2 separate regions of the Homo sapiens genome follow, and region 2 is linked to region 1. Evidence: promoter capture Hi-C in human tissues and cell types (Jung and others, 2019). All regions are on one chromosome and are shown on one strand. The core of a region is centred on a gene start or on the middle of the fragment in contact, and the rest is flanking DNA. Distances in the headings are between cores, read along the strand shown.

What was found. Contacts are between HindIII fragments. The study calls those that stand out against the background at their distance.
Region 2: a fragment that was not itself captured here is called in contact with the fragment with the promoter of ACTL6A in region 1 in 1 of the 25 tissues and cell types used here (lymphoblastoid cells).

The regions. Positions count from the first base shown.
Region 1 is chr3:179,561,528-179,566,034 of GRCh38, reverse strand. ACTL6A (actin like 6A) reads right to left here and starts at 3,109. Exons shown (of 14, transcript NM_004301.5): 1 at 2,918-3,109. The coding sequence starts at 2,942. RefSeq lists silencers at 229-288, 3,018-3,247. The HindIII fragment of the contact is 12,889 bases long and covers 1-4,507 here.
Region 2 is chr3:178,527,859-178,532,837 of GRCh38, reverse strand. The region is part of intron 5 of KCNMB2-AS1 (KCNMB2 antisense RNA 1); the gene reads left to right. Among named protein-coding and RNA genes, the nearest start is that of KCNMB2, 6.1 kb to the left of the region's middle. The HindIII fragment of the contact is 4,238 bases long and covers 1,346-4,979 here.

The sequences.
Region 1 (4,507 bases), core at 1,860-4,359:
CAAATATTTCTGCTAAGTATTTCTCAAATCCCCTCCTTTTTAATACCATTGCCACTGCCTTCAATCGAGCTCTTATCTCAACCGGGAAACTACAATTCCCTACAGATATTGTGCCTCCACCTCTTTGCCTCTTCAATCCACCCTTCCAACTGCTGCACTATGATCTTTCAATACTGTAACTGTCATTATTTTGGTACATAAATCCTTCAAAAAAAATTAGGGGGTGAATCATTCCGTGGTTTCTCATCACTGTATTTGATAAAATTTAAATCACTCTAGCCAGTTGAAATTCAAGGTGTAGCAAAATCTGGTAGCAGTCTCACTTCCTGCCTCATACACTAACTTACTGGGTAATATGTCATCTCCTGAACGCACCACATACTCTCACTCAGCTAACCTTTGCATATGCTGTCCCTTTCCACTCCTCCTCCATCATCCCCATTACCTCTATTGTAAAGTCCCTTGACTCCACCACACGGAATCAATAACTTTATTCTCTGAGCTACCTTTGCACTATATATATGTATATATAGGACATATATAACATATAATATATAATATATACAACATATATGTAATATATATAACATATATAACACACATATATATATGTTTGTTTTTGTTTTTTTTAGGATAGAGTCTCGCTCTGTCACCCAGGCTGGAGTGCAGTTCCAGGTTCGAGCGATTCTTGTGCCTCGGCCTCCCCAGCAGCTGGGACTCCAGGCATGCACCACCACGCCTGGCTAATTTTTGTATTTTTAGTAGAGACAGGGTTTTGTCATGTTGGCCAAGCTGGTCTTGAACTCCTGGCCTCAAGTGATCCGCCCGCCTCGGCCTCCCAAGGTGTTGGGATTACACCGCACCCGGCCCCTTCTACATATTGTTATCAATGAACATCTCTCATTGAATTACAGTTACCATTTCTGATCAATATAAGATGCTATCAACTACATGATGCACCACTATTTCCTGCATCACTAACAAAATAATATGGCAATTAAACTCTGCCACGCCAGCACTGTTAAGACATATTCTGACTGGGGGCAGTGGCTCAAACCTGTAATCCTAGCACTTTGGGAGGCTGAGGTGGGAAGACCGCCTGAGCTCAGGAGTTCAAGACCCATCTCTATTAAAAAAAAAAAAAAAAAAGACATATTCCAACTTCAGCTGTTTAAATGTGGGAAAAAATGTACAACGAAGAATCAGTGAAATACGGTGTCTATTTACCTAACAGACTCATCTACAAGACTGAGCTTCTTGATGACAAGAGCCTATACCTGCCACATAGCAAGTACTCAAAAAACATTTTTGTGAAATAGAAAAAATCCAACATATCAGCTCATTTTCCTGTCCTAATTAGTTTAGTAAACTGGATATGGTGGAATTTTAATTTAAGACTCTAAATTCTCAGAATTTTACATCTGTTCCTTTTCCAGGATGGGAGATACATCTAATTCCTGTACCCTGCTTCATTAAAAATCAAGCCCCATGAACCCAAAGTAGGAGAGTGGCCATGGGAGGCAGGAGGCTTAATAGAACCACAGAGTTCTGGATGTTTAAAACCTAGGATGCAATTTCTAGTCTATAAAAATCCTCAAGAATTGAACCTCTACTCTACTAAAAAGGCTTTTGTCTTTTTTGAGGATTTTAATGTTTTTCTCCTTCCAAGTTTAGGGGTGATGTGATTTTCTTGGGGAACATGAAGGAAAAATCTTATTTTTGTTGTTTCCTACCTGTAAAATGACATCCTTTATAGAAACAGCATCACTACTAGACACAGTAACAACAGCAATAGTCTGGATTTGTTTTCTGGGTCTCTAACTCATCAAACACAACCCAACACATGAATTATATGTATCAGTGTTTCGATTAACCTGCAGATCTTGCAAAAATGGAGGCTCTAAATCAGTAGATTCTGAATGACGCGTGAGATCCTGCATTTCTAACAGGCTTGCAGGTGATGCTGACACTGCTGGTCCATGGGCCAGACTTTAAGTGGCAAATGCAGCATTATTTCATTTAACCTTCATGCCCACCCCCATCGGCTAGGAATTATTCCATAAATGAGGCCTGAAGTTGGAAAGTTACATAAACTGCCCAAGACCAAAGCGCTTAATAAAGAGTGAGGTGGATATTTCAACCCAGGTCTGTAACCCCCGGCACCTGGTAATCTTCCTACCACACCACAGTCTAATCAAAGAAAGTGAAAAAATAACACGCCTAGGACCCCCAGCAAACTTTCTGGGCATCCTTAAATTACACGTGCTCCTGAATTGATCTCAAACAGACCCGCCCACGAGTCACTCTGGAGACTCCGCAGCCAAAAAACAGGCAAGAGTTACTGAAAGGTGAGGCAGCTCGCGCATGGGGCGCAGACGGGGAGGAGGCAGTACCCTAAGTGGCCGCCGCTTCCCTAGTCAGTTCTACGGCTTGAGGCTCGCTTTGCCACCTATGGGACACTCTGGGAACCCTCCGTCCACGCTTGCAAACCGCCGGGACCTTCCAAGTTTAGGCGGGCGCACACGCGTCCCGACACAGCTGAGTCCAGGAGGCACTCGGGGAGATGCGACCCTGGGGCGGTCACCCAAGCCGGGGCCCGGCGGCCGGCTAGACTGAGCCTCCCGCCCAGCCCCGAGGCTCCCTAGAGAACCGAGCGCGCACCCCAAAACCCTGCTCCTCCGGGGACAGAGGCAGGAAGAGGCCACAGAGAGCCGCCACTTCAGGGAGCCCGAGGAGCACGGCGAGCCGGGTGGGCTCCGGGGGCGGGCAGAGCGTGGGGCGGGGACGGGGCGGGGAGGCCGGGGTCCCGAGAGGGGGAGACCGGAAGGGAACGCCGGGGAGGGGAGGGCTGGGAGCGGCGGTTACAAACCCCACACGCCGAAAAGGCGCGCTCTCTCGTCCGGCCGCACTCACTCACCTCCCCCGTACACGCCGCCGCTCATGGCTGCTGCCGGCGCGACTCCTACCCTAAGGGCTAACTGGCGAAGTGACTGCAGTGGCCGCGACTGCGAGTCTCGAGGAGCGATAGCCCCTGACTCCCTTAACTTCCACCGCCACCCACCTCAGGCAACAAAGCGGCGTCCACACACCCCGGAGCTCAGCCACACTTGCTGGCTCCTCCTATCAGCCAATCACTAGGGTCCAGGCCTAAGTCTAGCCAATCAGAATGCGGCTGCGCCGCATCCCCGCCGCGGCCCAGCAGGTTTAGCCAATCGAAGGCAGCCATGGGGGCGGGAAAGAGGAAAGCGACAGCAGGACAGAAGGAGTTGGGTTGCGGAGCTGGAGGGGGCGGAGCTTCCCGGGTGGGCGAGGGAATGGGCGGAGGCAGTGGGAGAAGAAGGAGGAAGGCTGGAAGAAGCATGGGGGCGGGACTAGGAGGTGCGTCTGGGCGCTGAGGAGCGGCGGGAACCCGGGTAGGGGAAGGTAGACCCCTGGAAATTGAACGGGTGTCTCCACGCCGAGATTCCTGTCCAGTGACTGTGGGGAATGCGGATTTCTTTCTTTTTTTCTTCAGAAAAAGTATTTTAAACTAACTTTTATGTTGAAAAAGTAAAAATTTTGCGCTCCACTTTGGGATAGGGGAATCAGTAAATCAGACAAATTGATAGGATCTTGCAGTTTTTAAAATGGTTATTAATAAGTAAAAGAAGAATGAAATTATGCGGTATCCCAGCTAAACCTAGGTAGCGCTTTAAAAACTATTAAAAAACTTACTCATTTCTTTAAAAAAAAAAAAAAATTTCAGGCCGGGCGTGGTGGCTCATGCGTGTAATCCGAGCACTTTGGTAGGCCGAGGCGGGCAGATCACAAGGTCAGGAGTTCGAGACCAGCCTAGGCAACACAGTGAAACCCTGTGTCTACTAAAAATGAGAAAAGTAGCCGGGCCTGTAGTCCCAGCTACGCAGGAGGCTGAGGCAGGAGAGTCGCTTGAACCCGGGAGGCAGAGGTTGCAGTGAGCCGAGATTGCGCCACTGCACTCCAGCCTGGGCGACAGAGCAAGACTCTGTCTCAAAAAAAAAAAAAATCAATTTCTTTTATCCTGTGAGAGGTATTTAAAACAGCTAATCAATCTTCATTCAAGCAAGCACCCAATCCTAAATAGGCATCCCAAAAACAGCCTTAGTCCCCTATTTCTACCAGCCTAGTCCAGATCACCTTCCTTTATCCCCAGATTACTGCAACAACTTGTTGCTGTGTCCCTTTGCCACTCTTGATCAAGGGAGCTTCATCTGTGAAAACGCCCAAACCCGATCAGGACACTCCAGCGCTCAAACCCTTAAGATTGCTGCCTATCCTTGTAATTGATCCTTGTCTAGAGTCTAGACATGCAGTGCCTACTTTTAACCTTAGAAACGATTGACTAAAACCCCATCAGTCTCAGTGGCAGAGGGTGGCAGAAAGTGATGAGGCAGTAGGGTGGGAAAAAAGGCTAGCGGGAAAACTCTTTCCCATTCACTTGACAATATAATCACAGTGTATCTGACCATTTAGAAAAGCCCTATTAACC
Region 2 (4,979 bases), core at 2,215-4,714, 1.0 Mb after region 1:
GCAAGAATATTTTGTGCATCTGTAACTTGATAACATTTCAACAGCATCTGCTCCCTGAATGTACATCAGAGAACTTGTTCTGGAAAGAATTTGTGTGTGTTAACAAATATTAGGTTAAGAACTGGAGACTGGGGGAGAGTGGTGTGATCACACATACACAGAATTTGCAGTTTACGTGCACAGCCCGCCAGTGAAATGGTTTAATGAATGGAACAATGAATGCATAATTTCATTATGAGTCATCACTATTAAAATGAAAATTTGATAGATACATAACCAGAAAATGTAGCTATCTGTTACAGACACAAGTGCTAATTATATTTTGGAGTATATAATTTATGCTCTGAATAATACAGCAAGTAACTGCTTTTGCCCTATTATGACTATTTTTCCAGGAACAACAGGAAAGTTAGTTTAGACACTGCTTCCTTACTATTATATTTCTGTGAATGTTGAAGCTGACTCACTTTGAAGTGATCTACAGTTCCACATTAGGTGCATACAAAAGGCATTTTCTAGTATAAACTCAAATGCATAAACTTAGAAAGCAATTAAAGACAACAGTTGAAGAAAATCTAACATCAAACCAGCATCTTATTTCTAAAATAGAAATGAAATGCTTTAATTGGTCCATATCACTTTTCACAAAAATTGTCCTTCAAATTTAAATTTCTCTAAAAAAGTTTTCATGAAATCATAATTTCTAAAAGTTTACATTTCTGGAGTATATTTGCCCACATCACATTTGATACTTTTAGAATAAAGTTATTGGGTGGCAAGGCAAATATTAATAGTTACATTTCCATCTAGGCAAATTGAGGATAAGGGAGGTTTAATGATTTTTTTTGCAATCACGTAGCCTGTGCGTATGTCCTCATAATCCAGTGTTCTTTTTATTTCATAAAACTTTTCACCTAGGTCCTGTATTTTTTAGTTAAAACTTCTACTAATATATGCAGCAGAAGATTTTTTAAAAAAAATTTTAAAATAAGAGAGACAACAAAGAGAAGCTACGCACTGGTAGAAAATATTCACAAGACATATTTTATAAAGGACTGCTATCCAAGCTATACAAGGAACACTTAAGACCTAGCAATAAGAAAAACACACAACCTGATTAAAAAATGTTCCAAAGACCTTAACAGACACTTCACTAAGGAAGATATATGGATGGCGAATAAGCATATGAAAAGATGCTCCACATCATATGTCATCAGGAAAATGCAAATTAAAACAACAACACACTACCACTATGCACCTATTAGAAGAGCCAAAATCTAGAACAGTGACAACACCAAATTCTGGAGAGCAACAGGATGCAAGAGCAACAGGAACTATCATTCATTGCTGGTGGAAATGCAAAATGGTGCAGCCACTTTGGAAGACAATAAGCAAAGCATACTCTTACCATATGATCCAGCAAACAGGCTCTTTGGTATTTATCCAAAAGAGCTGAAAACTTATGTCTACACAAAAACCTGCACACAAATGTTTATAGCAGCTTTATTCATAATTGCCAAACTTTGGAAGAAACCAAGATGTCCTTCAGTAGCTGAAAAAAATAAACTGTGGTACACCCAGACAATGGAATATTATTCAGCACTGAAAAAGAAGAGCTCTCAAGCCATGAAAAGACATGGAGGATAGTCAAATGAGCATTACTAAGTGAAAGAAGCCAATCTGAGAAGTCTACCTACTGATTCCAGCAACCTGATGTTCTGGAAAAGTGAAAACAATGGAGACAGTAAAAAGATCATTGGTTCCCAGGAGATGGGAGGTCAGGGGAGGGATAAGTGGGTGAAGCACAGAAAATTTTTAGGGCAGTGGAAATAGTCTGTATAATACTGTAGTGACGGATCATGTCATAATACATTTGTCCAAACCCATAGAATGTACATCACCAAGAGTGAACCTTAATGTAGACTATGGACTTTGGGTAATTATGATGAATCTAAATATAGTTTCATCAATTTAAAAATTAAATATAGGTTCACCAATTTTAATCAATGTACCACTCTGGTGGGAGATGTGGATAACGGGGAAATCTCTTCATATGTGGGGCAAGGAATACAGTGAGGGGGTATATGAGAAACCTCTGTGTCTTCCTCTCAACTTTGCTGTGAACCTAAAACTGCTCTAAAAAATAAAGTTTTTAAAATAAACTACAGAAAAAAGCATAAAATAAGAGATTGCTGGAATATATATATATATATATATATATATATATTTTCTCCTTCTATGTGACAAATACTCATGGCTTTTTAAGAAACATTTTGTTTTATTGCAACTTATGTTTTTAAGATAGAGTTGCTAAATATTTTTAAAAGGTGAACTATAGAAATTCATAATAATTCTAATTACAGACTCAATATTGAATAATTCTGTAATAATTGCAGCTGCCCAGGACTTCCTGACCGGTGGGTTACAAGCAAAAACCCACCCAGTACGACCACGATTTGGGTCATGTTCTTGGATTATTTGATTGCTTTCCCGTCTCTCTTTATCACAATTAGGAGAGCAAGTCCTATAGGTCCTAACCCCCACCACCAACCTTGTGGCAGTTAGCCTTACCTGCAGGTTTTATATAGAGTTATTACCATTCTGTGTGCATGTGGTCAAATGGGAGAAGGAGGTACATAATAATATAATATACATATTAATTAATTTTATCTAAATTTTCAGAATAGTAACATCCTCTCCAACACCTCCCTGATTCCCCACCAAACACAGATAGAGATGCTGCAGAGCCCACTCTTGGATCCCATGAGAAAGCACTGGAATAAGCTAGTTTAACCACTTTCAGAAGCAATAGTTCTTTGGCTGAGGCATTGCATTTGGCAGAAGCTTATTGGGGCTTCATTACCATCCTTCTGAAGCCTGTCAGAGTACTGAACATAAATCAGTTTTAAAATAAAACATAAAATAGAGCATTGACAGTTGCTGAGGTTTTATTTCATTTGGAATCTCCTACTTCCCAGGACCTAGCTGCAGTCTTCCTGCTTATTGGAAATATGGACTATATGAATGTGGCACTCCAGGCTCTGTGTATCTATGTGCAATCAATGGGAAGATGATACTGGTTGCTATACAACATAGCATTAGACATGATACCTGCTGCTTTCAATATTATGTTAATTAAAAGACATCTGTCTTCCAAACAAAATGGAACAAAAACAAAAATCTTTGGTATGCAGAGAGCTCTAAGGTTAGCTATAAAAGGCAAAGATTTATGTGTATGTTGGTATTTACATTTATGTGTATATTTTATTAGCTCATTTTATGTTGCTAGATTCTTAGAGTAAAAGAAGAACCACTTAATAAACAAAATGCTATTTAGCAAAATGTGAATATTTTTTGTGAAACGTTCACTTTACAAAATGACAGCATAATCCTGATAAATGTATTGTGTCTTTGCTAGGTGGAGAATTTTTAAGGGCTTATTAAATTCTAGGCATCTAGAAAAGTCTTAATAAATATTTCCTTGTTTCATAATTTACTTAGAAAAGGAATTGGCAAAATGGATATAAACACATACATTTGCATATTGAAGTATATTTGTAAAGTTGCTTTCATAAAGGGTGTAAGTTAGATAGGATGGTAGTGTCATTGTATGTCCTGTTTTATTCCTTAAAAATGAAACAAAAAATCCCTAAACCTTGTTTAATTCAGATTATGAAAGGGATACACACTCAGTATTGAAAAATTGGAGTATCGAAAAAACATAAAAATTAAAAGTATACAAAGAGTATTTTAAAAGTTTCCTATCATCCCACAATCCAGAGATAACTTCTATTATAATATTAAAGAGCATTTTATTGCATCTAGTTTTATATATTTATTTTCTCCTTATCCTTATGTTTTCCATGTTATTTTGAAATCTTTAAATCTTTTTAATAAACATATAGTATTTTGTCATATGCATCTTCTGTAATTTTTTTCAACAACCCTCATTGGTTAACACACAGGTTATCTTCCTTTTTCATTAGCAAAATGGCTTTGCTGAAGGCTTAGTACCAAAATCTTCGTCTACATCTCTGATTACATTACTTTAGGATAGATTTCCATGCGTGGATTGTTGGGCTGAAATGTACGAGGATTCTAAAGGGTCTTGGTATGTTCTTGCTGAGTTGCTCTGTTGAAGGGTTGTACCATTTTCATAGCCCCATGAGTGGAGTATGACTCTACTTTTGGCAGAAGAGTCATCATGGTGAGAAAAGAATGCTTTATTCCAGTCTTCCACACAGGTTTATTTCATTTTCTTTTTGCTTTTGGGACTAAAGTGGAAATCACTTGTCATGTAACAAGAGGGGAGAGAAAGGGGGCAAAGGAAAAGAATAACTAGTGTTGGCATTTTTATTTCAGTTTCTTGAAGTAGAAATGTTTTCATTCTTATTGTGGGAAGAGGGAAAGTGAAGAACTACTGCAAAGTCTGGTCCCTAGATTCATGTTGTTCCTATTGTTCAAAGCAAAATCTCTTCCTCACTGTGTCCTTTAAAACCTTGGGTATTTCTACTTCCAGGGGATTCTGATGTAAGCAAATCCACATGGTAAATCTGGTGTGTCTTCCTGGAAAATCAATTTGCTCCAAGACTGTAGGGACAGGAGTTTTGAATTTTTGTGTTCTGTAAAGTTTTTAACAGATGCATAAGATCAGGTTATTCAACATCATTAATAACGTAAACTCAGAAAAAAAGATCAATTTTATGAACTGGGAGTCATTGGGAATCTGGAACTATTTTGTCTTCAGGGAGCTTTTGTGATAGAAGTCAAAATGAACAGAAAACAAGTCCTCAGTGAGAACTGGTGATGCTAATACAAAAGGATGGGAGCGTACAATTTCTTGGCAAGTTAGAAGAAACCTATGTTGCTTGCTATATGGAGAAAGAGTTTATTTCCTAAGATTCAGTATTTTTTTGGTTGTTACACATAAGAAAACTGCCCACATACAAATCAGATCAACATCTTGCTAAAATTGCATT